Linked DNA regions of Homo sapiens: regions 2 and 3 are each linked to region 1. The links are contacts of gene promoters, found by promoter capture Hi-C in blood cells and fetal thymus (Javierre and others, 2016). All regions are on one chromosome and are shown on one strand. Each heading gives the region's core, a stretch centred on a gene start or on the middle of the fragment in contact. The rest is flanking DNA. Distances are from core to core; before and after follow the strand shown.

Region 1 (3,501 bases), core at 437-2,936:
GAAGAAATTCAATAGCTGCGTCCCATTAAAAGACAGTAGAGGAGAATAGCAAGAAAAGCCAAGGATGGAGGGTGTCCCTGGAAACAGAGTCGAGGTAGAGAAATAAGGGCAAAAGCTTCAAGAAGAAAACAAAATAAAAGGGGAGAAGCTTCCAGGAAAGGGATCTAACTTTGGAATCTGCTAACTGGTAGCAAGAAACGGCAGGGCGTGCGGGTGGAAATGTCTTTTTCCTCAAACAGTGTCTTTCTGTAATAGCAAGAAAGCTGCGGCGTCCAGAATGGGAAGAAGTGGATTTTTTTTTTCTTTTTTAAACAAACTCGACATCACTTTATGCTTTAGAGAAAGGGATGGAAATAAATATCATATAAAATACAACCAAATTCCCCGAAGACTTTCCCCCAACTTATTTCAATCCTACTTAAGCGACTATAGGTAAAGGTGGAAATAGGGCTATGGGCTGAGAACGCATGGGTGGGCTGCCCTGGGTGTATTCCAACGGAACCTGCACTAAAGAGGAAGTCTTTTTGCAAAGGAGAGAAAGGAAGAGGAGGGAAACAGAGGGGAAGGGAACTGCTGAAGGTTTCCCTGAATTGCTTATCAGCAACTCATTTAACTCACTTTCGGATATCTGCTACAACCAGCCACATGCACACCCCATCGGAGCACACCTTACCTATTTGCACGCTGCTCGGAAAGGCTCCCATGGCGAGTCCCCAAAATCCAGAAAATAACAAGACAATCTGTCTGGAAATAATCCTCATCTTCTTTTCTCCTCTCCCTGGCGCGCGCTCTCTCTCTTTCTCTCGCACTCTTCCTAAAGGCTGTTCAGAGAAGCATTGAAGACGATGGCGCTAAAATTAAAATCAACCAAAAAAAAAAAAAAAAAAAGAAAAGAAAGAAAAGAAAGAAAAAAAAGGAAAGAGGTTTCGGTGGTTTAAGATTATGACTAGTTCTCCTTAGCAATCCATCGCGAGCCGCCAGATTTTTCCCGCAGTCTCCATAGCCCTGGGAGAGGTTTTCTGTCCGGCTGCAAATGTTGCACATGCAAAAGATGGTGGTGGAGCGTCTAGTGGCTGCTCGCAGGGATGAGACATGCGCTCTATCTTTGCCTCACTCGCACTCGCGCTCGCCCCTTGCTTTCTCACATACACACAAACACTGGCGCCGCGGCCGCCACACGCGCTCTCCAGCTCGCATCAGCCGACATCCCCCAGCAAGCCTGCACCAGCCCGGAGCATCGCTGCCCTCCTGGCGTCCCCTCCTCGAGCGCGCACTCCCTCCGCACGCCCCTCGCCCACCGCTCGGCTGGCTTCACCCCCTGGGTGCTCACCGGAGCGCCCCAGTCTCCCGGACGCTCCGGAGCCAGTCTGGTGTCAGGTTTTCCCTTCTGACCACTCGCTGACTCCCTCCTCTTTTCTTCCTCGGTTCGCAGAGGGACCGACTCTGGGGATGGGCACCCCCAGCGCCCCTCTCTTGGTTTTCCTGGCACCTCTGCTTCTCGGCTGCGCTAGGCAGAAAATCCGCCCACGGGCCAGGTCTGCAAGCCCCAATCGGGGGCTCCGGGGGGTTAGTACCTCCCCATGCCCCCAGGCCCCTGCCGCATCCTTGCAGGTTCGTGAGGAGGACGGGCTGCCTCCCTCTCCTACAGTCCTGGCTTCCCTCTCAGCCTAGCCCTCTTCTGCCACTGGGCTGCGCGCGGGGGACTCCGGTCCTCGCTGCAGCAAAGATTTCTCACCAGCAAACAGCCCGGGAATCTGGAGAGCCTGACAAGGGAATGGATGAGGTGAAAGGGTTCAGAGAGGGATGGGAGGAGAAAAGACAGGCAAAGGGCAGCCCCTGGCGGGTTTAAGAGGCCAGGACCAGGATGAAAGAATTGGAGGAGGTAAGGATGGGGAAGAGAGCCAGAGAAGTTGAAACATCCTGGGAAGGGGAGGAGGGGGTAAAAGGTTATTTTAAATAACTGACGAAGTTTAGGGTACTGAACGGGATGGGGAAAAGACTGAGAAATGAAAATTGAAAGAGGCCTCTAACATTCTCTTGGAAAGGCATGAAGCAGGGATAGGAATAAGAACTGCGTGAAGTGTAAAGTAGGAAAAGTGATTAAAGATTCGATTGCTTTCTATACAGTCACCCATTCCGGAGGACTCTTTCCTTCTGTGCTGTGGCCCATTGCAGGAGCAGGAGGGACACAGCGCAAAGGCTGATGAAGGACCAGAGGGGCAGTGCTTGGGGCAGTGGGCACAGGTGTCTGACAGGAAGATAGTGTTTCGTGCACATCTCCTCTTGTCTGGGACTCTGGAATGCTCACTCTGCTCCACGCCACCTCCAGGTAGACTTAAGCACTTCAGTGATGATGTCAATAGTTGTTTTGACTGGGTAGAAGTGAAAATGAATTATCCTAGAAAGTTTTGGGGTTACAGTCTCACTTGCTCTCCAGAGTCACCTTTAAGATTGTCCTTTCATCTGCCTGTCCTGGACTGAGCTTGAACCACACTCAGAAGCAGTCACTGTGGTAGCCGTGAGTGACCGGTTTCTGATTTCCTCTGTATGGTTTGAGATTTCCTGATCTAGTTAGTAAATACAATCTCCTGTTCCAATAAGCTGTGTGAGAGAATCATTAGAAGGAGAGGTTCTCCTTAAACGTTAGGGAACCTAGGGTGATGTCTGCCATTAAATTTTTAAAAAGAATATAGCAAATGCCTAGGTTTGCCTGATATAATATTTGAGACTACAATGCTTAAAGTGGAATTCTTGCAAGGGACTTACAGAAAGCCTGGTAACGGCTTTTTGAAATATACATTACCTTAACTCTTTCAAAATACTTTATTTGGTGTCACTGATTACCTGTATTTGTAGTTTGTAGATGACATTTTAAAATCCCTGCTAAAACTTGAGTGCTTTTCTATTTCCTAAGTTTTGAATTTTATTTTTAAAATTGCATCTTTAAAATAAGTGTCTGCTTTCCCGTTACATTTCACCACAGATTGTTATGAAAAAAAAAACCTAATTGTAACTGTATTTTACAAATCATACATTTGTCATTTTAGTTTGTGAAGTTTTAGTCTTGCAAGTCAAGTGAAATTTGAAGCATTTTTCCTTTTTTTATTTTTCTGTGTTAAAAAACAAGGCTGTGAATAATAGCATTCTGTTTTCTCTTGAAAAAGGATAATAGAGTATGACACATAAAATTCAAGTTAAATTAAAATTTCAAAATCCACCAAACTGTTAAACTCATCACTTGCTTGGGTAACTAGTGAAGCTCTTCCTGATCCAGAGGCAATTATTAACTTTAATTCTTCTCAAAATTGAAAGATTTCAGTTTTCATATGATGTAATAGCATCATTGATATAGATGCAGGACAAGTTTTTTTTCCCCACTTAACTGTCATGATAACACCTGGACTAATATAACCACAGATGACACAACTATATTTTTCCAAAATAGTAATCCAGTTGTTTTTAATTTCTATTTTCCCAAGTAGTTAAAACCTCTATTTTACT
Region 2 (3,501 bases), core at 510-3,009, 1.0 Mb after region 1:
CCCAAAAACTGGCTCTTTTGAAAGTTTAGTTTGACTCATGTGGCCCTTAGCACAAATGACTCCCTCCTGGTCTACTGGAGCCTCATGTAGGAGGCTAGTCCAAAACAATGGCCCCCAATAAACGTTGATTAACAAAGTGAATCTGGAATTTTGTTTTTTTGTGAGACGAAGTCTCACTCTGTCACCCAGGCTGGAGTGCAGTGGCACAATCTTGGCTCACTGCAACCTCTGCCTCCTGGGTTCCAGTGATTCTCCTGCCTCAGCCTCCCGAGTAGCTGGGATTACAGGCGTGCGTGACCATACCTGGCTAATATCTTTATTTTTAGTAGAGACAGGGTTTCACCATGTTGGCTGGGTTGGTCTTGAACTCCTGAGCTCAAGTGATCCACCCACCTCGGCCTCCCAAGGTGTCAATCTAGAATTTTAACACAGTGATTTGACTACAGTTTCAAGTAGAAGAGAGAGAGAGGGAATTGATTTCTTAGTGAATCAGAACAGTCTTAGGATTTTGTTCAATGAAATTGTGGGGAGAGGATAGTTACCATATCTGAAAGCAAGATCAGTACTGCTTAGAGAATGCTAGAAGGTAATACAAGCTAGCAGAGGTAAATTTTGAGGTTTTCAGTTTGAGATTAAAATTGTCTAATTGCTTACTCATAGGTATAATGATTATTTTACAAGTACTTTAATAAAATATACTTTGATATTTAAATTAATTTTTGAGCAAGTCTAATATTATTATAACTAACATATCCCTTTGGGTTAATTTATAAATAAAAATATTTCAAGAAATATTATGGTCTTGAAATATTCATTGACAAGAAACTATTTTTCAGTGCTCCAATTGTATTATTTTTATAATTTTAATTGAACTTTTCTTCCCCAGATCAAAACACATTATTGTATAAAATTTTCAGCATACTTTGAGAATGAAATTATTTTCATTGCTCTCCAAAATCTGCCCACAGAAGCATATTAAAAGAATGAATTCACTTTCCCTGAAACCTCAAAAGATCACGTATGTATAGCAAAGTTCTTTAAATGAGCATCTGATCTGACTTTCAGGAACAAAAGAAAAACATTTCAGAAGTAAAAGGGAAAATGTCCCAAAGAACCATTTATAATGTCCAACTTTACACAAAATCTGGCTCAGTTATTGAGACCTACTTGAACCAGGCTACTTCCTGGATTTTCCCTCTGTGTTCAGCCTTTAGAGCACTGTGGCTATCAGTATTATGCTAAATCACACCCTATGGCGACCCTTTCTGGCAACAGCAGTTAGAGTAGGATTGTGCAGTAAAATTAAAAATGCCTGAAGGCTTTGGATGCTACCTGATTCTGGACTTTTGTTTATAATTCCAGAGCATCTCTAGACCAACTGTACTGGATTATATCATGACAGGGTCACATAAGAAGAATATTAAAATTCTTCATTTCTAACATATGACTATTTGAGAAATTTATAAATCAATCTAAATATTGTGGCAGTATATAGATTTCGACAAATTTACCTGTCCTGAAAAATTCCACTGCATTGCAGAGGGGCAGGTGGTCACTTTTCCAATCTCTGGGCTTAGAAATTATACTGGGGCTGTATCCATGTTCTATGAGTGCTGATTTGGCAACAGCTTATGGGCAGCTGTCATCTGCACAGAACGAAATAACTCAACATTTCTTTTTATTATTGATCACCATTGTCTGGTAGCTAACTCTCTAGTATCTGCATATGAATAATCAACTGCAGTATTACTTTATTTTCTGCTCTGAGAAAATTGTCCTTGACATTGTTTACTGGCATTCATTATGCCCTTGGGAATAATAACTAATTTTAATGTTAGCCTAGGTTAAAAAGTAATTATGAAAGCAAATAATTGCAAAAGTCAAGCCAATCCTATATTCCTAAAACAAATATTGCTCTGATATCTTGCTCATCTATGCTTCTTGGTGGCATTCAGCTAACAGATTTAACTAGCCTTTGTTGATTCTTATTTTTAATGTAGGCCAGGTACTTTTACAAATATTTATCCACCCATACATGTATTGAACACCTTAGTGGCCCCATATGACCCAGCTCTCATCTATGGTACTATGATTATTATGCTTTGGATCTCCAGGCATCAATGTCAATTAAGACCTGTGTCCAGTAGTCCTACAAGTATTTGAATAATGCCTTTTTCCAAGTTTATTGTTTAACTCGAATAACTGGCTATGGATCCCTTCGGCGAAGGAATGAGAGTCATTGTGGAATAGACTCACTGTGTTGTTGCAGCTTCCTTTCTCTTGGGAGGATCTAATTTTATTTTTGGTCAAATGATTTGAGAACAGGAAACAGACTCAGGTTAGAGAATTGAGGAAGGTATGTTTTTTTATTGAGGTAACTACCCTCAGCCTCCTGGTCATCCATCCTTGATTTCTTCTGCTGGTACAAGCTGAGTAATATCCTTGTTGCCCACCTATCTGTCTTGCTATAGAGATGCCATGTGCCATAACTATATAAATATCTACCAATTCATAATCCTCTGTGGGTCAGATCTCTTGACTTCAACTATAACTTGCTGGATAATAAGATAATTGTAACCTATTAAATTTAGTGGTTAACTCCACCACCTATCGTCTATTTTTTTTTTTGAAGTGTAGGTGGGTCCTATTAACCCCACTGCTATCAGAAAGCCACATTTTAGTTTATCCAACTAACAGTCATAGTTCACAAAGTAAAGGCAATACTACAAGTTTTAGTGTTGCTGGTGCCTGTCTCACCAGGTTATTCCTCATAGCCCTTATAAATAATACATCCTCTGGGCCTTTCCATGAAGCATACCATACCCATTGGCTAGACCTGCTGACTATATATGCTGTATCTACTTCCCGCCTGCCCACTTCCAAGAGCATTTTTATTCCTTTCCCTTTTCTACTTCTCCAGTTTTTAGCCCTTTGACTTCATTCAGCATAGTCCATTGCTTTTTACGTGCCTTTAGTTGACATTCTAGTTTGCCCCATATCCTGGGATCATTGCCTGGATGTTAAATTCTACATCATAGGAGAGTATTTACAAGTCAAGAAACTCTTACCTATCCTATTTTATACTCATTCCCCTTGATTAAGCACCCTCAGAATCCAACCCCATTTATGCTCCCCCTGGACTTGCTGGTGTATGATGTCTATTTTACGTGGCTCCTTTTGACTATAAAACCAGCTAAGTTATGCTACAACGTAACACAGTTATAGCAGCAGTGGGCATGATGGGACGTGGGAGCAGATCCTGAGGGGCACACATGATGACTTACAGGAAAGAGCCTCTGAATTATTAACCAACACAAGAAGTGAGTATTAGAGCATTCTAGCTCTTCATGGGAGTGTCATTTTTATAGACTCAGTAGGGCTTTGAGAAGTCAGAAAGATTCATGGCATACACCCAGGCCTCTCCATCTAATGTGCCAGCATTCTAGGATTTTCCTACTGGAGCCCTTACCTTAACATGAGAGAAGAGCCTTGATGAGCATT
Region 3 (3,501 bases), core at 673-3,172, 1.0 Mb after region 1:
TTTTTGTTTCCAAGAAGACCAGATGAGGTAGGCATCTGTATTAGAAATACGCTAGACCTCCCTATCAGAATCTACCTGTCCAGAAATAGTATTATTTATTGTATCCCTTTTTGATCCTTGTTACCAGCCTCAAAGTAGCAAGGCTTCTTCAAAGAAGCTTAGCTTTGATCGTGACCAGAGCCAGGTTGACAGGTGAGATGTTAAAGTTTGTTTTGCCCCAACATGATCTTGTCATGACCCATTTTGGTGCCATGCAGCTGAAGGTATGTTTTGGTTGAGGATTCTAACTATTCTAACTTCCAGTGAATTCATGCACAGCTGGATCTTGTTGGGAAAAAGAATCATCTTTCAACCCTTCAATGGTATTTCCTACTTACCATTTCATTTAACATTTATCAGAGTGCCACCTTTGTAGTAAAATGCTGAAGTGAAAATTCTTATGTTTAATAGCAGGGAAAAGTGAAAATGATTGTATCTGATTGAATCTGTACTTGCAGTGAACAGTTTAAATTTAAATTGGGAAGGTGCCAGAGGCCTATTGGCTTCCTTCCGTAATTGTCAAGTTCCATGGAATGGAGGAAGTTATTTTAATTCCAAGTAACAAGAATAATTTTGCATCCTGAGATCCAGTGCTGCTACTTAAAACCAAAATACACCAACATTTTATGGCACAGAAATACAGAAGATCCTTCTTGCCAAATGCCTCTGTGTTTATTTACTTCAAGTCCCAGAAGAACAACCCAGATCAATTTTGCCACTGACATTATAAATAGCATAGCAAATTCATAAGGAGTCTTTTCTTCAAAGAACGGAAACTAATCTGAAGTCTGATTAAACTCACAGGGTCCTTGTGAGGGAGATGGGAAGAGGCAGAGTATTTTGTCTAATTTCAAGTTCAAGAAAGCAAAGAACACAAAAGTTAAGTGGCTGGTGTCCATTTACTCAAGTAAATGTATTCAGGAGTTGAGCCAGAAATAAAGATCAAGTCTTCTGGCCCATGCACTAGGCCCCATGCTGCCTCACAGCTTTCAAAACCTTCATTTTCTTGGGAAATGCTAAAAAGCTTTCCCCTACCATACATACTAGATTCAGACACACTGCCATCTACTGACCCACCAAAGGATGTGCCAGCACAAGACATCCTGACCTTCAAGGGAGGGAGGAACACCTTGAGAGGAGTTGAGATCCTGCTTTCTCTTCAGAATGCCATCTCTAGGATGCCAATGGGCTGTGTCTACAGTACTATGTAGGAAAGTGCTGCAAGAGGTAAGTGAATTTAGAATATTTCCTCCCCGATGAAGGGATTAGTATTCTGGCACTATTAATATTTATATAACGATGTCACAATGCACCATGTTGTCTATATGTGGGATATCCTTGAAATAACCCCTTCCTCTCGTACTCTTATTTTGACATATTCGTCTAGGGATTTGAATAGTATAAGACAGCCTTTCTTTTTCACATAAAACAGTTTGAGGAATGCCATACGATTTTTGTGTTGTCTATTTTGTCTTTCACTGGTGTCCTATAAGATGTGCTAGTTATCCTACATGATGCCAAGAAAGGCATAATAGAAACCAAGCTAAATAGCCACAGTCCTGTGCTTGTAGAAAATATCATAAAATGTCCTAAAAGAGCTCTAACAATAGGAGAACTAGGCTCCTAACTATAATTTCAGCAATATTCTTTTTCGTTCAGAGCCAAGGTATTTTTTTCCCAGAAAAAATATCAGTGTCTTTCTTGCCACATCAACCCTTTAGAGGTTGCCTACATTCTTCCTAGAATAAAAGTAACATTTTAAAGACTTCATCAAGCGATGATGAATACAATTACTGTTTTTATTCCATTTTTACAGCCAAAAATTAAAGTTATGATGTTTGTCTATTGCTTGTGATTGTACTTAGTCCATTGCCTCTAAGAAAGAAGTTGAATTTAAGTATGTGGACCATATATTTCTTTTTTGATGAGTGTAAATGGATAAAATTAATATCTTAATATATAATCAGTGTCTATAAAAGAATCCACGTAGTAGCAGAGAAGCATTTGTGCCATGCTGGTTACTTGTCTTCATTTGCTTTGAGATCTCAAGAAAAGTTTATTTCCCAGGATGGTGGTTCACAGGCATTGTGGTTGAGGACTATACATAGAAAACTAATTGTGAAAATAGAACTTATTCCTATTCTTTCAGGATATGAAATCTTATGTTCATGACAATTTAATTGTTTTTATAAAATAATTGGTTTGGCATTACAGTTAGTAAAGCAGAACTTATCCTTTGAAGTTTACAGCTTGGAACTCAATCTGAAGAAGACCACTGATTTAATTTGGAATAAATGTCTATATGTGTCCAACCAAATCTTTACAGAAATATCTTAAGTCTTCTTAGGCAGAAATAAGAAACTGTTGTTTCCAAATTTTTTAAATGTCAAGAGGGTCTCTAAAATTATGACAGAGATGAGGGATACAAGGAGAGATACATAAAGAATGGAAACATCTGGGAGTTTTACTGACTCAGTGAAACTAGGGCATTGTGAAAACCTAATTGAAAAATCTACAGAGAGAAAAGTCCAGTTCACAAATCTGGCCCTCACATGTTCAGTCCTTAGTAAAGGCTTATTAGATATTGCAAGATGAGAGTGAGGTCCAGGAATGGTTAAATGAAAAATGAGAAAATAAAAGGTTATGAGGAGAGCAGGAAGGAATAATAATAGGAGGGTGCCAAGGCATTTGAACATCTTTGTTATGAGCTTGGACAAGATGCTAGACATTTAGAAAGCTTACCTGAGTTAAACTGAACTACCAAACTTATTGAGAAGCAGTAACAAGAACAAAATGTTCTTTAGCCTTGTTCTATTTAAAGCAGATGCATGCATATTAATCTTTTACAACATGATATTTATATTTGATTCTTCTTGTAAAACCATCACAAGACATCAACTCGTCAGAATACATAGATTTTTTAAATGTTTGCAGAAACTATCTTCCTGACACTGGAATGGTGAATTAATTCAAGTGTTATCCATATGTTTCCTCTGTTATTCTTTCTTTTAATTTTTCTGTCATTATATTTTTGATGATTTAAGACAGAGATACAACATCACATTTTCTTAAATAAAGAATATAAAAATAATTTCACACAGAATTAAAGGTATTTGTACAAATTAGTATGGTTTGTTTTAGATAAAAGATTAAGTAATCAGTTAAATCTCCTAGACCTAGGTGAGCCATAAGAAACACAGGCAGCGTCTGGCATTCTTGTAGAGTTGAGGAGACAGCTGAGAGTTCCCAGACAAAAGCAGCTAGGGTTCACAGAGCATGAGCGAGGGGAGAGCTGCATGGGGAGAAAACTCTGGCAATTTCTATCAGGTCTTTCTCAAGTGTTTCAGGAGAGAACTCATCTGCACACGTGTGGGTGAAATCTACTCGAAACTGAAGAATGAACCTCTGGAAGGACTAAGGGGAACAATTCTTGGAGCTCAGGTTAGGCCAAGAATATTTTAT

Evidence for each region. Contacts are between HindIII fragments. The CHiCAGO score rates a contact against its expected background, and 5 or more counts as called.
Region 2: a contact is called between a fragment that was not itself captured here and the fragment with the promoter of GRIA4 in region 1, in 2 of 17 cell types (neutrophils and monocytes). The highest score is 5.8, in neutrophils.
Region 3: a fragment that was not itself captured here is called in contact with the fragment with the promoter of GRIA4 in region 1 in 4 of 17 cell types (M0 macrophages, monocytes, megakaryocytes and 1 more); the score reaches 6.7 in M0 macrophages.

Annotation. Positions count from the first base shown.
Region 1 is chr11:105,608,258-105,611,758 of GRCh38, reverse strand. It overlaps GRIA4 (glutamate ionotropic receptor AMPA type subunit 4), which reads right to left and starts at 1,686. Exons shown (of 17, transcript NM_000829.4): 1 at 1,331-1,686; 2 at 674-851. The coding sequence starts at 761. RefSeq lists a silencer at 510-710. The HindIII fragment of the contact is 4,294 bases long and covers 151-3,501 here.
Region 2 is chr11:104,589,834-104,593,334 of GRCh38, reverse strand. The region is part of intron 1 of LINC02552 (long intergenic non-protein coding RNA 2552); the gene reads left to right. Among named protein-coding and RNA genes, the nearest start is that of LINC02552, 18 kb to the left of the region's middle. The HindIII fragment of the contact is 3,654 bases long and covers 1-3,501 here.
Region 3 is chr11:104,607,002-104,610,502 of GRCh38, reverse strand. It overlaps LINC02552 (long intergenic non-protein coding RNA 2552), which reads left to right and starts at 1,201. Exons shown (of 4, transcript NR_120585.1): 1 at 1,201-1,266. The HindIII fragment of the contact is 1,713 bases long and covers 1,066-2,778 here.